2 separate regions of the Homo sapiens genome follow, and region 2 is linked to region 1. Evidence: promoter capture Hi-C in 16 types of primary human blood cells and fetal thymus (Javierre and others, 2016). All regions are on one chromosome and are shown on one strand. The core of a region is centred on a gene start or on the middle of the fragment in contact, and the rest is flanking DNA. Distances in the headings are between cores, read along the strand shown.

Region 1 (3,496 bases), core at 918-3,417:
CCTACCATGCTCCATCATACTCAGGTCTCCCTACTCCTGCCTTAGATTCCTCAATAAGATGCTGTAACTAGCATTTTTTGAATGCCTCTCCCTCCGCATCTCATCTTTCTCTTTTCAATCAGGCTTTTCCAAAGGGTTGTATACAGACTCTGTGCACTATTTCACTTGATATTCATTCCCCAATTCACTGCAAGGAGACCTCTACTGTCACCGTTTACTCTTTCCTACCCTGACATCCAGAAACAATGGCCTCCAGTGCATACTTCTCAATCTTTGCTTTATGGCCTTTCCATCATAGTTGCCCACTCCCTCTCCTTACTTAGCTTCCAGGTCTTAACTTCTCTGACTACTCTTGTCTTCCTCTCTCATCAATTTCTGCTTCTTCATGGAATGCTGACCTTCATTGCTCCATTTGTAGATTTTTGCTCTTCTCAGTTTACTCATTGTCCCCTGGAACAAATCACTGACATCTACAACCATTACCATCTCACTAAATAAGACTTTCTATCCAATAATGATTGATACCTCAAATGTAAGATGCGTGATACTCAACATTTCATCGTCCACCTTCCCAACCCCAAACAATTCCATCTCGTTTCTTCTTGGTAAATGATGCTATGCTTTTTCCAACCAAGCCAGAAACCTGTGTCATCTTTTCACCCCACCTTCAATCAACAAGTCCTCAATCAACAAGTCCTACTGACTGCACATCTTAAATATATCTTTATCAGTCCACAAGTCCTTCCAATTATATTTCCCAAGTATATCTAGAACTTATCCACTTATATCCCCACTGCTACTACCTTAGTTTAGGGCTATATTCTCTTGAAAAAAAGTGTCCTTACTTCCTGCCAATCCCCAAGTCATCTTCCAGAGTAAAATGCAAATCCCATCAGGCCACTTGGATGAAAACCCTTCAAGGATTACTGGATAGAATTCAGGCTTTCCCCTCCAGCCCCCAATCATAGCTCACAAACCTTCCTTGCTATTTGTTCTTAAGTAAAAAATCATTTTTCCTCCTCCCTCCCCAAACCCCAAGGAACTCTCACTCTTGCTCAAGCTGTTCCGTCCCCTTACCACCCCTGATACAACTGCCAGGTTAATTTCCAGAATTCTTGCAAGACTCAGTTCAGAAGTCACCTTCTTTCGTGAATGTTTTGATTCCCTGAGGCTACTTTATTTTGGTATGGCTGAAAAATCCTAGATTTTCTAAACAAAACCTGTTTGAATCTTGGTTCTGATATGGACTAGGAGAGAGACTGGGTCAAGTAAGCTTATCTCCCTGAGGCTGTTTCCTCGTCTGTTAAGTGTGAATATCAATACCTGCCTTTCATAATCACCAGGGAATAAAGTGGAATAATGTTGATAACAGTGCTTGGCACCTGGAAGTAGGTGGCAGATGTTAACGCCCTTCCTCCCTTGCACTGCGCCCCCTGTGCCTACCTCTAGCATTGTAACGACCACGTAGTATTGAAATGGCCAGTTTACTTGTCTGCCTTCCTTTCCAAGACCGTTGGTGCCTAGAGGACTAGAATCGTGTCCTATTTAACTTTGTGTTCCCAGGTCCTAGCTCAGGAGTTGGCAAATAAGAATTAAATGTCTGCTACACCGAAAACCTCACGCCTCTCATTCGTTGTGATTTTTGCATATGTTGTTGACTCAGGCTGAAACTCCTCCTCCTCCTACAGCAGCACTGTGTGCCGCCCCACTGCTGCCCCCACCTCTCGGGGCAGCTGGCGGAGAAGAGAGGGGGCTTTCCAAATCCACTATGAATCCTTAAAAGGCTGAATAAGGGAACTTGAAACGATGCAGACAGGCAGGCAACCCGTAGTCGAGGGACATAGGGCCATAAACGTCGAAGCCAGGTCTTGAGCGTCAGACAGAATGAGGTGTCCCAGAGCGGCGGAGGAGAGCCAGACGCACGCTGGTTCCGGTCTGGACGGAATCGCCGCGGAGCACGGCAGAGGCTAGGGCGGAATGGCTACGGCAGCGCAGTTCGCCAAGGCTCGGTCTCCGCCCTGCAGCCTATTTCCTCTAACCCGCAGATCCACTATGGGAGGAGGCGGGGAGCGGGCTGGAGAGCACTAACAGAGACAGGCGGGGCGAGTCGTGGGCGCGTGACGTCACCCCGGGGTGTGCGCGGCGCGAGCGGAAGCGGAAGCGGCTCTGTTCGCCGCCTCTCCCACCGGCCCGATGAGCTGCAGCGGCTCCGGCGCGGACCCCGAGGCGGCGCCGGCCTCCGCCGCCTCGGCCCCGGGCCCCGCGCCCCCGGTCTCGGCTCCCGCCGCGCTGCCCTCCAGCACCGCCGCGGAGAACAAGGCCAGCCCCGCGGGGACAGCGGGGGGACCTGGGGCTGGAGCAGCTGCTGGGGGCACGGGACCCTTGGCGGCGCGGGCCGGGGAGCCAGCTGAGCGGCGTGGGGCGGGTGAGGGCCGGGACGGGTGAGGGCGAGGGAAGCGTCTTGGGCTGGGTCCAGCGGCGGGTGAGGGCAGAGGGTATAGACAGACCTAGCTGGGGCCCTGCGCCTCCCACCTCTGTGTCTCATTTTGCTGGTTCTCCTCCAGCTCCGGTGTCGGCGGGTGGCGCGGCGCCCCCGGAGGGGGCCATATCTAACGGGGTTTACGTACTGCCGAGCGCGGCCAACGGAGACGTGAAGCCCGTGGTGTCCAGCACGCCTTTGGTGGACTTCTTGATGCAGCTGGAAGATTACACGCCTACGGTGGGCTTCCGCCCGAACAAGGCCACCTAGCCTGCTGTCAAAACTTTCAGCCACATCGTGCTTTTCAGCGTTCTCTTCCATTTGCTCCCCTAGTCGCTCTTCTGTGTTTGCCCTCTGCTCACCCAAACTGTGAGCTTCCTGATAATCAGGCCTATCCATTTCCCTCACCCTCCTCCCGCTCTGCTGACAGTTCTCTTAATTGATTTCTCAGATCCCAGATGCAGTGACTGGTTACTACCTGAACCGTGCTGGCTTTGAGGCCTCAGACCCACGCATGTGAGTAAACCCAGGGCAGGTTAGTTTTGGGTGCTTGTGCAGTATGTTGTCCATCTCCTTCTCATCTAAGTTTTTTCTCTCTAGAATTCGGCTCATCTCCTTAGCTGCCCAGAAATTCATCTCAGATATTGCCAATGATGCCCTACAGCACTGCAAAATGAAGGGCACGGCCTCCGGCAGCTCCCGGAGCAAGAGCAAGGTGTGAGGGGAGGCTTAATGAATCAGTAATTACCTTCCACAACAGTGGAGGCTTATCCTGCCACCCCTTTGGGGAAACTGAATCGTAGGGGAGGTGTAAGACTTACTCAGGGTCACCCATCTGGGATTGAAGTCCGGGATTCCTGTGCTCAGTTGGTGCTCTTCCCTCTTCCCTCAGGACCGCAAGTACACTCTAACCATGGAGGACTTGACCCCTGCCCTCAGCGAGTATGGCATCAATGTGAAGAAGCCGCACTACTTCACCTGAGCCACCCAACCTAAATGTACTTATCTGTCCCCATG
Region 2 (3,656 bases), core at 523-3,022, 120 kb before region 1:
TGGAATAGTTTCAGAAGGAATGGTACCAGCTCCTCCTTGTACTTCTGGTAGAATTCGGCTGTGAATCCATCTGGTCCTGGACTTTTTTTGGTTGGTATGCTATTAATTATTGCCTCAATTTCAGAGCCTGTTATTGGTCTATTCAGAGATTCAACTTCCTGGTTTAGTCTTGGGAGGATGTATGGGTCGAGGAATTTATCCATTTCTTCTAGATTTTCTAGTTTATTTGCGTAGAGGTGTTTATAGTATTCTCTGATGGTAGTTTGTATTTCTGTGGGATCGGTGGTGATATCCCCTTTATCATTTTTTATTGCGTCTATTTGATTCTTCTCTCTTTTCTTCTTTATTAGTCTTGCTAGCGGTCTATCAATTTTGTTGATCTTTTCACAAAACCAGCTCCTGGATTCATTGATTTTTTGAAGGGTTTTTTGTGTCTCTATTTCCTTCAGTTCTGCTCTGATCTTAGTTATTTCTTGCCTTCTGCTAGCTTTTGAATGTGTTTACTCTTGCTTCTCTAGTTCTTTTAATTGTGATGTTAGGGTGTCAATTTTAGATCTTTCATGCTTTCTCTTGTGGGCATTTAGTGCTATAAATTTCCCTCTACACACTGCTTTGAATGTGTCCCAGAGATTCTGGTATGTTGTGTCTTTGTTCTCATTGGTTTCAAAGAACATCTTTATTTCTGCCTTCAGTTCGTTATGTACCCAACTTAAGTTCTTAAAACTCTCAGATGCTTTATTAAACACAAAAGCTAACGAAGTCCTTCATTTGTTCGTTTCATTTTAAGAAGAAATGTCACTAACACACTTCTGATTTGATATTCTTATAGTACCCATACCATTTAAGAACACAGTGATATCCATTCTAAATTTAATATAGATGTAATAAATGCTCAAGTAAGACAAGCACTCAGAATTTCAGTCTTATTTTTGAAATTGTGTTATTTCCATTGGGCATGGAAAGAATTTCTGAAGTCCAAGAGTTTTTTTTTTTTGTTTTTTTTTTTTTTGAGACAGAGTCTCGCTCTGTAGCCCTGGCTGAAGTGCAGTGGCGCAATCTCAGCTCACTGCAGCCTCCACCTCCCAAGTTCAAGTGATTCTTCTGCCTCAGCCTTCCTAGTAGCTGGGTTTATAGGTGTGTGCCACCACCCCCAGCTAATTTTTGTATTTTTAGTAGAGACAGGATTTCACAATGTTGGCCAGGCTGGTCTTGAACCCCTGACCTCAAGTGATCTGCCCACCTCTGCCTCCGAAAGTACTGGGATTGCAGGCATGAGCCACCGAGCCCAGCCAAGTCCAGGAGACTTTTAAGACTCCTTTGTTCAAATAAGTCTTCCAAGGAGAAATGTATATTAAGAGAGACAAAAAGAAGCTAGCAGTTATACATACATTCGGAGATTGCATAGTAGTAATAAGAATAATATTCATTGTTACTGTTCTTAAATTGACATATTTCTAGTTGGACTGAAGTTTCTCTGTAAATATAAGGAAGAGAGGAAATCTTCTCCCTGTATCTTTCTAAGATTCCATTCTACTAGAAGTTTTTCGTTGAGAAGACTTAATTTTTTTGAGACACGACTCTGGCATTGTGTTATCACGAAAAAAAGAGCACGCCTAGTTTACTAGGGGAAAAAGTAGAGAAAAAATTGAACAGAATTTTTCCTTAATGATAATGGAATATGTATCCATGTAATATTTTGTCTACATTTCCTATATAGCTCAGAAAGGAGTCCAGTTTTTAGCAGAACACAGCAGGGTCCCTAGAAAGAAACCATTCTCTGCAGCTGAGGATACACTAACTTTAGGAAAGGATCAGAGCAATGCCTGGCAGGAAAAGATCAGCAATCCTAGCTGTCACTGACTCTCCATCTGACTTTCCCTCTCTGCCCCACAGTTCCAAATGTCACTTTGTCCAAGCTGGAGATGGCTTCCTGGATCACTGGGCTCTTGTTTTCCTCTAGGAAAAGATTTATGTAGACAACTTCCTTTAGTTTATTCAGAATAAAGCTGGAATTTTCCCAAATCAACTAGAAAACAGGCAGTAAAGGAAAGAAACGTGGAAGCCTAAAGATACGAAAGTTTACAGAACATACCTTCTTTGGTCAGTTCTTAAAAGTGCTCAGTCATCGCCAGCACCGTGTTCTGTCTTCAGGACTCAAAGCTGAACAAGCCATAATCTCTGTTTCTGGGGATTACAGTCAGTGAGCCAAGGGGAAACAGAGAAGACTATGAAGGATTACAATCAAGAGTGTGTTGTAAATGTTTTAACCAGCTCTTCAGAAAATAAAATTCCTGTTTTGTAGCATTTGCCTGTTTCTATTACATAAATATCCTCTCTGTGGCCACTTTCAAATTACCAACTCCAGCTTAAAATTGTGAGAGACGCAAAGTAACACATCATTACATAATATACCCTCTCTCTCTTCTTTACACACACACACATATATGCAATGAAAAAAACATAGACTTGGATTCAGCAACATAGATTATAGAAAATAATTAGAAAGTGATGGATTTTGAGTTTTACTACCCTTGTTTTTATATACTTTATTTACGTATAAATCTACATAATCTTTATTGAAGTGAAATTAACATAACATAAAATTAACCAACCCCTCATCATCCCCCTCACCACCCTTCCAATTCTTAAATATAAGACCTAAAACTATGAAACTCCCAGAAGAAAACATTGGGGAAACTCTTCAAGACATTTTTTATACTAGTATGTTTTTAGCCTCAATTTCATTTATTCTTGCTCTGATCTTTATGATTTCTTTCCTTCTACTATTTTTAGCTTTGGTTTGTTCTTGTTTTTCTAGTTTCCTGAGGTGCATTATTAGGTTGTTTATTTGAAATCTTTCCATTTTTTTGATGTAGGCATTTACTGCTATAAACTTCCCTCTTAGTACTTCTTTTGCTGTAGCCCATTGATTTTGGTATGTTGTCTTTTCACTTTCCTTTATTTCAAGAAATTATTTAAATTCCTTCTTAATTTCTTCATTAGCCAGTAGTTAGGAACACATAACTTCCATGTGTTTGTATAGTTTCCAAGGTTTCTCTTATTTATTTCCAGTTTTATTCATTGTGGTCAGAAAATACACTTAATATGATCTTGATTTCTTTGAATTTGTTGAGATTGGTTTTGTGGCATTGCTTGTGGTCTGTCCTAGAGAATATTCCATGTGCTAATGAGAGGAATATACATTCTGCGGAAGTGTGGTGAAATGTTCTGTAAATGTCATTTAGGTCTATTAGATCTAATGTGTAGGTTAACTCTGCTTTTTCTTTGCTGATTTTCTGTCTGGATGATCTGTCCATTACTGAGAGTAGGGTGTTGAAGACCCCCACTATTATTATATTGCAGTCTATTTCTCCCTTTAGATCTATTAATGTTTGCTTTATATACTAAGGAGCTTCAATGTTAGGTACATATAGGTTTATAATTGTTGTATCTGTGATATAGTTTAAATGTTTGTCCCCTCCAAATCTCATGTTGAAATGTGATGCCAGGTGTTGGAGGTTGGCATAGTGAGGAATGTTTAGTTCATGGGAGAAGATCCTTCATGAATGTTTTGGTGTCCTCCTCAGTGTAATGAGTGAGTTCTCACTCTAGTAGTTCATGCAAGAGCTGGTTGTTTAAAAGAGCCTGGCATCTCA

Evidence for each region. Contacts are between HindIII fragments. The CHiCAGO score rates a contact against its expected background, and 5 or more counts as called.
Region 2: a contact is called between a fragment that was not itself captured here and the fragment with the promoter of TAF10 in region 1, in 3 of 17 cell types (activated CD4 T cells, non-activated CD4 T cells and total CD4 T cells). The highest score is 9.7, in activated CD4 T cells.

The regions. Positions count from the first base shown.
Region 1 is chr11:6,610,887-6,614,382 of GRCh38, reverse strand. It overlaps TAF10 (TATA-box binding protein associated factor 10), which reads left to right and starts at 2,167. Exons shown (of 5, transcript NM_006284.4): 1 at 2,167-2,425; 2 at 2,565-2,719; 3 at 2,931-2,995; 4 at 3,080-3,194; 5 at 3,372-3,496. The coding sequence starts at 2,194. The coding sequence ends at 3,461. TPP1 (tripeptidyl peptidase 1) reads left to right here. Exons shown (of 13, transcript NM_000391.4): 13 at 1-1,615. RefSeq lists enhancers at 1,691-1,740, 1,791-1,920, 2,376-2,963, 2,964-3,496 and silencers at 2,211-2,310, 2,321-2,520. The HindIII fragment of the contact is 6,165 bases long and covers 1,276-3,496 here.
Region 2 is chr11:6,726,925-6,730,580 of GRCh38, reverse strand. No RefSeq gene overlaps it. Among named protein-coding and RNA genes, the nearest start is that of OR2AG2, 43 kb to the left of the region's middle. The HindIII fragment of the contact is 3,901 bases long and covers 1-3,656 here.